Linked DNA regions of Homo sapiens: region 2 is linked to region 1. Evidence: promoter capture Hi-C in human tissues and cell types (Jung and others, 2019). All regions are on one chromosome and are shown on one strand. Each heading gives the region's core, a stretch centred on a gene start or on the middle of the fragment in contact. The rest is flanking DNA. Distances are from core to core; before and after follow the strand shown.

Evidence for each region. The method cuts DNA at HindIII sites, captures the fragments that hold promoters and counts their contacts. A contact is called where the count stands out against the background at its distance.
Region 2: a fragment that was not itself captured here is called in contact with the fragment with the promoter of PIGM in region 1 in 1 of the 25 tissues and cell types used here (mesendoderm cells).

What each region holds. Positions count from the first base shown.
Region 1 is chr1:160,030,196-160,035,166 of GRCh38, forward strand. It overlaps PIGM (phosphatidylinositol glycan anchor biosynthesis class M), which reads right to left and starts at 1,795. Exons shown (of 1, transcript NM_145167.3): 1 at 1-1,795. The coding sequence starts at 1,544. The coding sequence ends at 273. The HindIII fragment of the contact is 11,020 bases long and covers 1-4,971 here.
Region 2 is chr1:159,890,862-159,895,362 of GRCh38, forward strand. It overlaps CFAP45 (cilia and flagella associated protein 45), which reads right to left. Exons shown (of 12, transcript NM_012337.3): 2 at 2,319-2,444. It overlaps LOC124904434 (a long non-coding RNA gene), which reads left to right. Exons shown (of 3, transcript XR_007066678.1): 2 at 1,486-1,640; 3 at 2,284-2,365. Among named protein-coding and RNA genes, the nearest start is that of MIR4259, 7.0 kb to the right of the region's middle. The HindIII fragment of the contact is 4,491 bases long and covers 1-3,514 here.

The DNA of each region.
Region 1 (4,971 bases), core at 545-3,044:
TCTGATAGTTTCATCAGCCTTTCCATTTTCCAATATGTGACCTTTATTCCCACCATGTCCCAAATAAACGAGTCCTAGGATTTCCTAGAAGGTGGACCTCAATTATTGTGTCCCTTTTATATATAAGGCAAACATTGCTTTTAAGTTCTGTTGGAACATGGGAACTTTCACTAGAATGCTTAGAATGTTCAGAAAAAATGTCCCAAAGCTCTCTTCTGGTCCATACAAGACAATCAGAATGTAACACAGTAGCAGAGGGTGTGGAACATACACTAGTCATATTTGATTCTCTCTGTCAGGGGTTCTTCTTTGTAATGGGAAATAATTTGAATCAGGATGGAACAATTGATAAGAAGAAAGAACAAACCAGCTAACCAAATAAACAGAAAGGTGTTCTTTCCTTGAAACTCTAGAACATAGGCAGGAGCCAGCCACATGGCCTGCCCTATAAACCATAACATTAGGAGAACTACAGCTCTTTTCCAAGGCATTCTGACTAGTGGCATCACAAGAGGCAGTAAGCAGAGGTACCAAAGAAAGTACTGGGAGGTGCAGACTTTGTTAAAAGTCACAAAAATGGACGTATGAAGAAAACAACAAAAAACGAGGTCTCTGTAATAGGCGAAAGACACAGCTGAAAGCAAGATGAGCTGTGGCAGGAATGCAGCAATTCCCAGGGAAAAACTCCACTTGCTCTCTGCAGTCAAATACAGCATGTAGAAGTACGGAGAAAAGTTGTGACGGATATCCCGCCTAGTCAGGTGATAAAAGTAGGTGTGTTCCAAAAATTCCCAGCCGTACTCATAGTAAAAACCAAAGCTCAGGGCAAAAAACGTGAGTCCAGCAACTGCTACAAACAGCAGCACAGCCCGATTACACAGCCTTTTCAGGAGCTCGTACAAACAAGCCTGGAAAGTGTACCGGAATTGACGGAGGCTTTTGTCATTGTCGCGATCTGGAAGCAGGTGGAGGGTTATGGGAAGGATGTAAGTCACTGGATATATCTTCATATGCACCGCGAAACCATAGAATACAGCTGCACACGCGACGAGTCTTTTCTTTATCAAGTAGAGGACCATCAGGACCAGGGAGGCGACAATAGAGTCCGCATTACCGCGGCTGGATACTGCCATAGGCAGGGGGTTAAGAAGCCAAAAGACACAGTAGCCACAAGCCTGGCGGCGCCCCAGCCCCTTCAGCAGCAGCAGGCGGTATAAGAGGAAAGCGGTGAGGAGGTCGCAGCTGATGAAGAGAAACTTTCCAAAGAGCTCGCTGAGGTAGATGTTGGGAGTGAGGAGCCAACCCAGCAGCGGGGTGTAACGGTACGTGGCTCTCAGGTAAGGCGAGCGCCCCTCCGTGACGAAGCGCGCGGCGTCGGTGAAGACCTGGTAGTCGATGTCCGTATACCTCACGTGCAGGGTCCGGTCCTGGAAGACGCCATAGAAAACCAGGGCGACTCTGGCTAGAAAGGCCACACCAAAGACGCCGGCTGGAGCCACCTTCAAGTTCAGGAGCCATTCGCCCCAGTGCTTGGTGGAGCCCATGATCTGACCGTGCGACAGCTGCTTAGCCCCAGCTCCAAACTGCCTTCGTACTTCTAACCTTCCCTTCGGTTCTTTGCAGCAGGTGGCCGCCGCATCTCCCACCCGCCAGGCTGCCAACCGAAACGACTGCAGACTATCACATCCGGCATGAAGCCCCGCCCCCGTACTGCTACCTGTCTCCAGCCCCGCGCGGTCTTCTCAGCCGCCCGAGCCAAAAACTTGCCTTCCTCTGGATGGACGGTCTCGCTTCCGCTTCTTCTTCCAGCGGAGGCGGGATTTCCGGTCCGTGGGAGGGGAGACGTCCGCTTGCCGGGAAATCCGGCACTGGCTTGAGGATTTTATGGAGTGGAGTGAGATTTCTTTGTAAGTGACAGCCCGCCGCCCCCCGCCCTCTTCCCGCGCCCCATTTCCAGTCCTCAGAGGAAAACCCTCCGACGAGCAGCGAGCTGCGGGCTGCGCGCTACATCCTTCAGTCCTGGGCTGGAGATCCGAGAGTGAAAAATGTAGGAGTGAAAGGAAGATAAGCCTTCTCATGCTTTACTCCACTAGCTCGCCGGTATTCACCGGGGATTTGTGGGCCCCGGACAGGACAGGATGAGTTGAAGGGGGCTGAGTGTGTATGTTCCATGCAATATTGGAGGCATACTTATATTTTTAAATTACTAGTTGGTAATCAGAGATTCAGATTTAAGTGGGCAGCTTGTATTTTATCCGGCAACCCTAGGTGAAGGTGATGGGAAAGAAGACAGGAAAGCGTCACAAAATTCCTTAACTTGTCAGCCCCTTATGCCTCAGTATCTCTGTATTTGCTATTTCTTCTGTCAAAGTTGCCATCCGCTCTCCAATCACTCTGGCAAATACCTACTCAACCCTTCAGGCATCAGTGCAAGTGTTAGCTCCCAGCTCCCACTCACTTCCTCATCACGCAGAATGAATGACTTAGATGCCAGTCCCCTCCCCTGTCCGAGGATAGGTAGACTGGGGCGGACGGGATCTAAGTTCCAGAAAATCACTCACACAGAAGACCCTGCCATGCTACTAAAAGTTCTCCCAGTGCTCCAGAACTCCCTGGTCATTCCTTTGTTACAGCATTTGTCACACTGCTTTGTAATAACTGTTTTTGTTTGTTTTGCTCTCCTAGTTTTCCATCAGGACACTTTCAATTCTTCGGTATCAGAGATTATCTTGTTCTTTTCTCTACCTCAACATCTAACACAGTACTAGTAGCCATTCAGTAAAGTTGAATTGATTTTAGAGGTTCCTCCTACCAGAATATTTCTAGAGTGGCATCTTTGGATTGCTCCCAACTCCCAGTTATTTTCCCTTTTAAATATCCTTTATGTATGTCAAGGTCCCCTGCTCCCCCCACCCCACTCCAACCCTACTTCCATGAATTTCTTGCCAAGGACTGTAACCCATTAGCTCTTCCCTTTCCGTGGTTACTTAGTGCACTTACATAGTCCGCATTGTAGAATTTGATACTTTATTTTAGATTGTATTCATAGCCCTCACAAGAGATTATAGGGTTCTTGGGGGTAGAAATTATATCTTATCCTTAATTTTTTTCAATTATGTGTAATTTATTGTAGTCTTAGGCACATGGTAAATGCTTAGTAAATACTGACTAATTGGATTTTATAGAATAAGCCTGCTTCCTAGGGGAAGTCTTCTAGACTAGAATAAGGAAAAGGAGGTGACTTCATGCAGTCTGAACATGCAGCTCCCAGAACTACCTGCTGCTCATCCATCCTACACTTCAATTTATCCCTTGGAGATGAACTGTGTTAATCTTATATATTCCATATTCATATTGTGATAGCTCTATGTCCTTTTATATGCCTTGGTATCATTACATGCCTTAGATTGATAATTCTAACCATTTTTTTGCAGTATATTAGCCATATATATAGTGGCAGCACATCACCACTCATATAATGATGATTATGATGATGATGATTACTATTATTTATAATAGCTGGATTTGTTGAGGACTCATTTGCAATGTACCAGGCATTATGCTAAGTACTTTTCATGTAAGGTAGATATTCCCACCTTTACAAATGAAGAAAACCAAGGCTTATGGAGATTAAGTAATTTTCCCAAGTCACATAGCTAACTAGTGACAGTGCTAGAACTCAAAACCCAGTCTGTCTGACCTAGAATATCTTAATCATTATGTGGCTGACTTGCCAATAAAATGTTGATCACAAATTCTAATTTTCCTATGTTTTCTCTTATTGATCTCTCATCTTGATATTCTGGATATTCTCTCTCACTGTGACTCTTTCTACCTCTGATTTATTCTTTTCTTCTGCAAATAATAGATAAGTGAGGCTTAGTTCCCTAAGATAGAAAATATGGGAGGTAGGTGTCTGAGGATTAACTAAGTAAGGGTCCTTGTGGCTGGATTGGTTTCAGTAGTATAGCAGAAAGGTTTCAGTCAATCTGTCCCTACATGGCTGTCCTAGTAGAGAGATGGGAGGCACCAAATTTAGGCAGATAAGGAAACAACTAATAAAAAAATAAAATAAAAAAAAAACTAAGCATGTCACTGAAGTCAAAGGAGTGAGATGTAGATAGCAGTTGTGGGAACGAAGAAGAGACTGGAATCTGTAAAACAAATTGGACAGAGAGGTCCAACTTTAGTTACTATTTCTGGGTGGAAGAGATACATCACAGGGTCCGAGGACCCCATATTGAACTTTTTGCATTGGGTTTAGGGATTGTATTTTCTCACCTCTTTCTGAAAGAGTTACATTTTTTTCAAATGCTCAACTGTTCATTACCTCTCGGACTGTTACTTACAATCCTTCTTAATTCCCCCTTTCACTATCTGCTCCTAGATTTCTATCCTTTTAGAGCCAATGACTAAGGAAAGCACAAACATGGATCGCTCAACTTTAGTTTCCCTAGCAGGAACCTTGTCCTTGTTCACTATGCTGCATATACTCTCATTACCCTTCCATATCCACTATTCATCTTTTTTGCCCTGTTCTGTGTTCCAAGAGGTTAGGCTGTATGGGTAGCATCACTCAATCTCCCTTGTTCTCTGGCTTCCCATTAGAATAGACCAGTGGGAGGCACTAGCAGATCTTTGGCAGTGTCTGGAATTCCTCACCTAAAGCCATGGCTCCTGTTGAAGCTATAGCTCTCTCCTTTGGGTACAAGTCTCATGGTTCCAGTAACTGTCCCTTCAGGTTTAAGGCTGGTAAAGGCGTCCTACTTTGCGAGTGCCTGGGTACATCACCATATCTTGTTGATTTATTAAACTTGCCCATACCTTTGCAAATAGTTTCTTCATTAAAACATGTCCACTGGCCCTTTGAGTATACCATCTGTTTCCTGCTAGAACCTTGACTACTTTAATCACTTTCTTTTTCACTAGATTTTGTTCATATGTCTTGCTTTGTCATTTCTTTGGAATCTA
Region 2 (4,501 bases), core at 19-2,518, 140 kb before region 1:
AATTCTCCTCCCTCAGCCTCCTGAGTAGCTGGGATTACAGGCGACCACCACCATGCCTGGCTAATTTTTGTATTTTTAGTAGAGTCGGGGTTTCTCCATGTTGGCCAGGCTGGTCTCAATCTCCTGACCTCAGATGATCCGCCCGCCTGGGCCTCCCAAAGTGCTGGGATTACAGGCGTGAGCCACCATGCCCAGCCCTGACCAGCTTTTCTGAAAACAAGTCTCTTGTTCTTATACAGATATTCCTCGCAGAATGGTAGGGATAACAAGGAGTGGGGGTCACTAGTGTGTGTCTATACTTAGTCTAAAATCATCAGGAATTAAAGTAAATTTCTGTTCTCTAGGTTTTCCTCTCTCCATGAAAGATTTTCCTTTATGAAAGAAGAAATAATTATCTCTCTAGGACCACACAGTGGGTTTGAAGCAATATAATTTGTTACAGACTCTTACAATCTTTGATATTGGTAATTTTAAATTCTTTCTTACGATTAAATTACTTTAACCCCCACAAAAAGCCATATTCAGGGAGTTAGAAATCGCTAAATGACCTGCAGAGGCCTACCCTTAAGATCTAAGGGTAGCTCTCTGCCAGCTCATTGAGTTGGTGGTGAGGAGGTCAGTGAGTTAGAATTCAGCAAGAACACAGACTAACTGTGTGATTTTTTCTTTTTTTCAAAATTCTCCGACCCTGAAGGAGTTAGATAACAATTAAATGAAATCACCTGTTTCAGAAAATGTCTAAACACAGGAAAGGATGTGTCATTAATGCAGCCACTGTGCTCCTGACCAGAGGCAGGGGGATGGCCCCACTTGTCCTACCTCACTTTGCACCCACAGTCCCCTGTGTGCTGCTGCCACCTGGTGCCCATCTCTGCTTTCACGTGGGCACAACTCAGTCGTGCCACAGGCCACTTCTGCCCTCTACTGCCCATTGAGAGACTTCCTGAACTCTTACCCATCAATGAGGCCAAAGAAACTGGACAAGAGACAAGCATTTTTCTGATAGCCCCCTTTTGCCAGCCAGCATGACTACTCCTGGAGAACTCAGCCAATTCCAAATCTCTCTTTGCTTTGACTAGAAAACTCCACATGTACCCAAAACAACAACAACAATACAAATGTCTGTAAGTGAAATTGCATTTTGGCCAGGTGGGGAGACTTACGCCTGTAATCCCAGCACTTTGGGAGGTCGAGGTGGGCAGATTGCTTGAGCTTAGGAGTTCAAGACCAGCATGGGGAACATGATGAAACCCTGTCTTTACAAAAAATACAAAAATTAGCCAGGTGCAGTGGTGTGCACCTGTAGTCCCAGCTACTTGGGAGGCTGAGGCAGGAGAATCACTTGAGCCTGGGAAGTGGAGGTGGCAGTGAGCCGAGACTGTACCATTGCACTCCAGCTCCAGCCTGGGTGACAGGAGTGAAACCCTATCTTTAAAAAAATAATAAAAAATAAATGCATCTGTTGATCCTTTCCCTTACCAACAGGAAAACTGCTGCAGAGTGAGAGTCTTCTAAATGGATTAAGAAGCCTATCTCAATCCCTCTGGAGAGTCCTCTTCAATTCACAATGAAGATGTTGAAGAGCAGGGACAGACATCAACACTCCTCTCCCCACCTTCCCCACTGGCAGAGGCATTCAGGTCACTACTAGTGTCTCTCTTTCTCTTTTCCCCTTCTCTTAATCTCTCACTGCCCTTCTCTCCATGTCATATTCTCTTTTTCTCCTTCCCTCTCTTCCTTCTTACCTACTAAACTCCATATGTACCAAAATCAGTCAAAGCTCTACTATCTAGCTCTCTTTATCTAGACTAAAGGAGTTGTCCACCTCTTGGTCTAGATAACACTTGCAAATAAAGACCTGCTCGTTTCCCAAAGCTAAGTAATTGTTTTAGTTGAGCAACTGGGAAAGGAGGATGGTTTTGTGTTGTACTCTGATGCTATTATCCTTGGATGGAGCGGGGAAGATGTTGCTATTGTCTGCAAGCTTAGCCCATCAGCCCTGCAATGTTTCCATCATGGAGCTCAACTGAGCAACTATTGCACTCTCTGCAGCTGAGCCTCCCTTTTGACATTATAACAGATTTTAAACACTGTGAAGACATGAGAGATTCTAGGGTGGAAGAAGCTAGGTGTCCCTGTTTACATAGGCCCCACTAGATCCCAAAGCTCTGCAGCTCAGGTCTCAGAATTCCCCTTTGTCTTCAGTCTGAGAGTTACCTACGAGAGCAAGGTTACTCAGCAGAAGCTTTGCCCTGAGCTACATTTTTGGGCCTCTGCCTGCAGGTGGCATCAACTTGAAAGGACTTGTTGAGGATTACCTTGATATCTCCAAAGAGGCTCTCATCCACCTCAGAGCTCACGGCTTTGGTCCGATAGCGAGCCTTATTCCTTGACCTGTTGGAAGCGGCAGAAGAGGAGCTCAGGATGCCAGCTGTGCTTAGTGGCTGCAGGAAGAGGCAGAAAGTTTGGGTCATCAGTACTGAGTGGCATCCAGACCCTGGGAAGTCAACAATTCACCAGCCCATGCTGGGGGAGTGGGTGGGCATGTGAAAAAGAAACAGTTAGGGAAAGCGGCTGTGTAAACTCTGAACCATAGGGGACAAGGAGCAACAGATGGAGGGCATCCCCACAGAGCAGGGAAGGGTCTCTGCAAAAAAAAGAGCTCTGCATAAAGCAGCATTTGTGTAAAACAGTTGATCTCATAGAAGTACAGAGTAGAATGGTGGTTACCAGAGGCTGAAGAGAGGAAGGGGAGGGGCATGGGGAGAGGTTGGTCAGTGAGTGCGCAGTTACAGTTAGATAGGAGGAATAAGTTCTGGTGCTCTATTGCACAGAAAGGCCACTATAGTTAATAATAATGTACTGTATATCTCAAAAGAGATACACAATATCTAGGAGAGGATTTTGAGAAATATAAATGTTATAAGATTAAATGAGATGGCAAGGTCTAGTATTTGATAGCGCAATAGAATGACTAGAGTTAACAATAATGTATATTACTATATATAAATGTATATTAATATACATGTATACAATAATATATATAAATATACATGTATACAATGTATATTAATTTACATTGTATATTTCAAACTAGCTAGAAGAGAGAATTTTGAGTGATCTCACTGCAAAGAAATGACAAGTGTTTGAGGTAATGGATATGCTAACTACCCTGATTCAATCATTACACAATGTATATACATGTATCAAAACATCACACTATACCCCATAAATGTGTACAATCATTATGTGTCAATTAAAAACAAAACTGTTTTGTTTTTTGTGGGGTTTTTTTAAGAGCATTTCTGTAGTCCCTGAAGCTGAAGGCCAAGTCGGCCACATAGTATGGAAGTAAGGATAAAGGAAGCAGGAATGGCAGGAGGAGAGAAGCAACAGTTTCTCATTATCTGCCTAGTACCAGTTTCCCAAGAGGACAATCTCTTGTGGGGCAACTTGGGCTTGCCCCCTGAGACACGCACAGTGTCCCCTTTGCCTCCAATCTTTTCAGCTTGTGCTTCAAGTCTTTCTCACAAATGACGCTACTGTTTGACCTCCTTCGTGTCTCCACAATCTTACAAGGTTATGGTGGGACCACAGGATATAAAGGATGGAAAAGTGCCTCACCCACTGCTTGGCATGTGGTTGATGCCCAATAAACTTGAGGCAGTGGGTGAATGATAAATGATTACTAGCTATAATCAAGCAAACCAGTTCATAATACCCACTATTTGGCTGTTTCTCTCCCAAGACCCTTTTAGTGTGCCTTAGTCATTTTTTAACCCCCTACTAACTTCCTATTTTGGCAAATTCCCCATCTAATGAGTTGTGGGAGATAGTGCTCTTCTCCAACTACAGAAGCTGAAAACATCAAATATTCACCTCAGCCTGGCCAAGGGACCTAGGCTTAGCCAATGAGATGGCCCTGGACTGACAATGACTAGGGAACTAGTGGACCAAAAGGCAGAACAAGGAAAACCTTTCTGACCCAAACAGAACTGGCAGCCAGACCCAGCGTCTGGGCAACACTGATAACGATACCAGCAGCGGCACCCTATGTAAGGAATTGGCAGTTTTGGGGGTGCAACAGTGCATCAGGGTCCTTGCCAGACCAGTTCTAGGTTTTGATTTTGGTCTTGGTTCCAGCTGCAGAAACTTCTTTTGTTCCTATTTGTGAGCTCTCCAAAACCCTCTTAACACATTCTCTTTTACTTAAATTGGAATTCTGGCTCTGTTGCTTGTAACTAAGAATCTGACGAACACAACCTCCATTCCCAAAGGACAGGCAGCTTCATCTCAGTCCCAAGAGTAGACGTCTATCTCTAAAAGGTAGTGTCTACAAGGACTACTGGATGACTCCAGGCTTATGATAAAGCTGATTCAAACCTCACTTTGGAGGAGCCCACATGCCCCACACCTCTCTAAACTGGGCTACCTTGAAGGAATAGGCCAGGCACATTGGGTCTCCCCAAGCCTGGGAATCAGCAGCTGATAAAGGAACAGG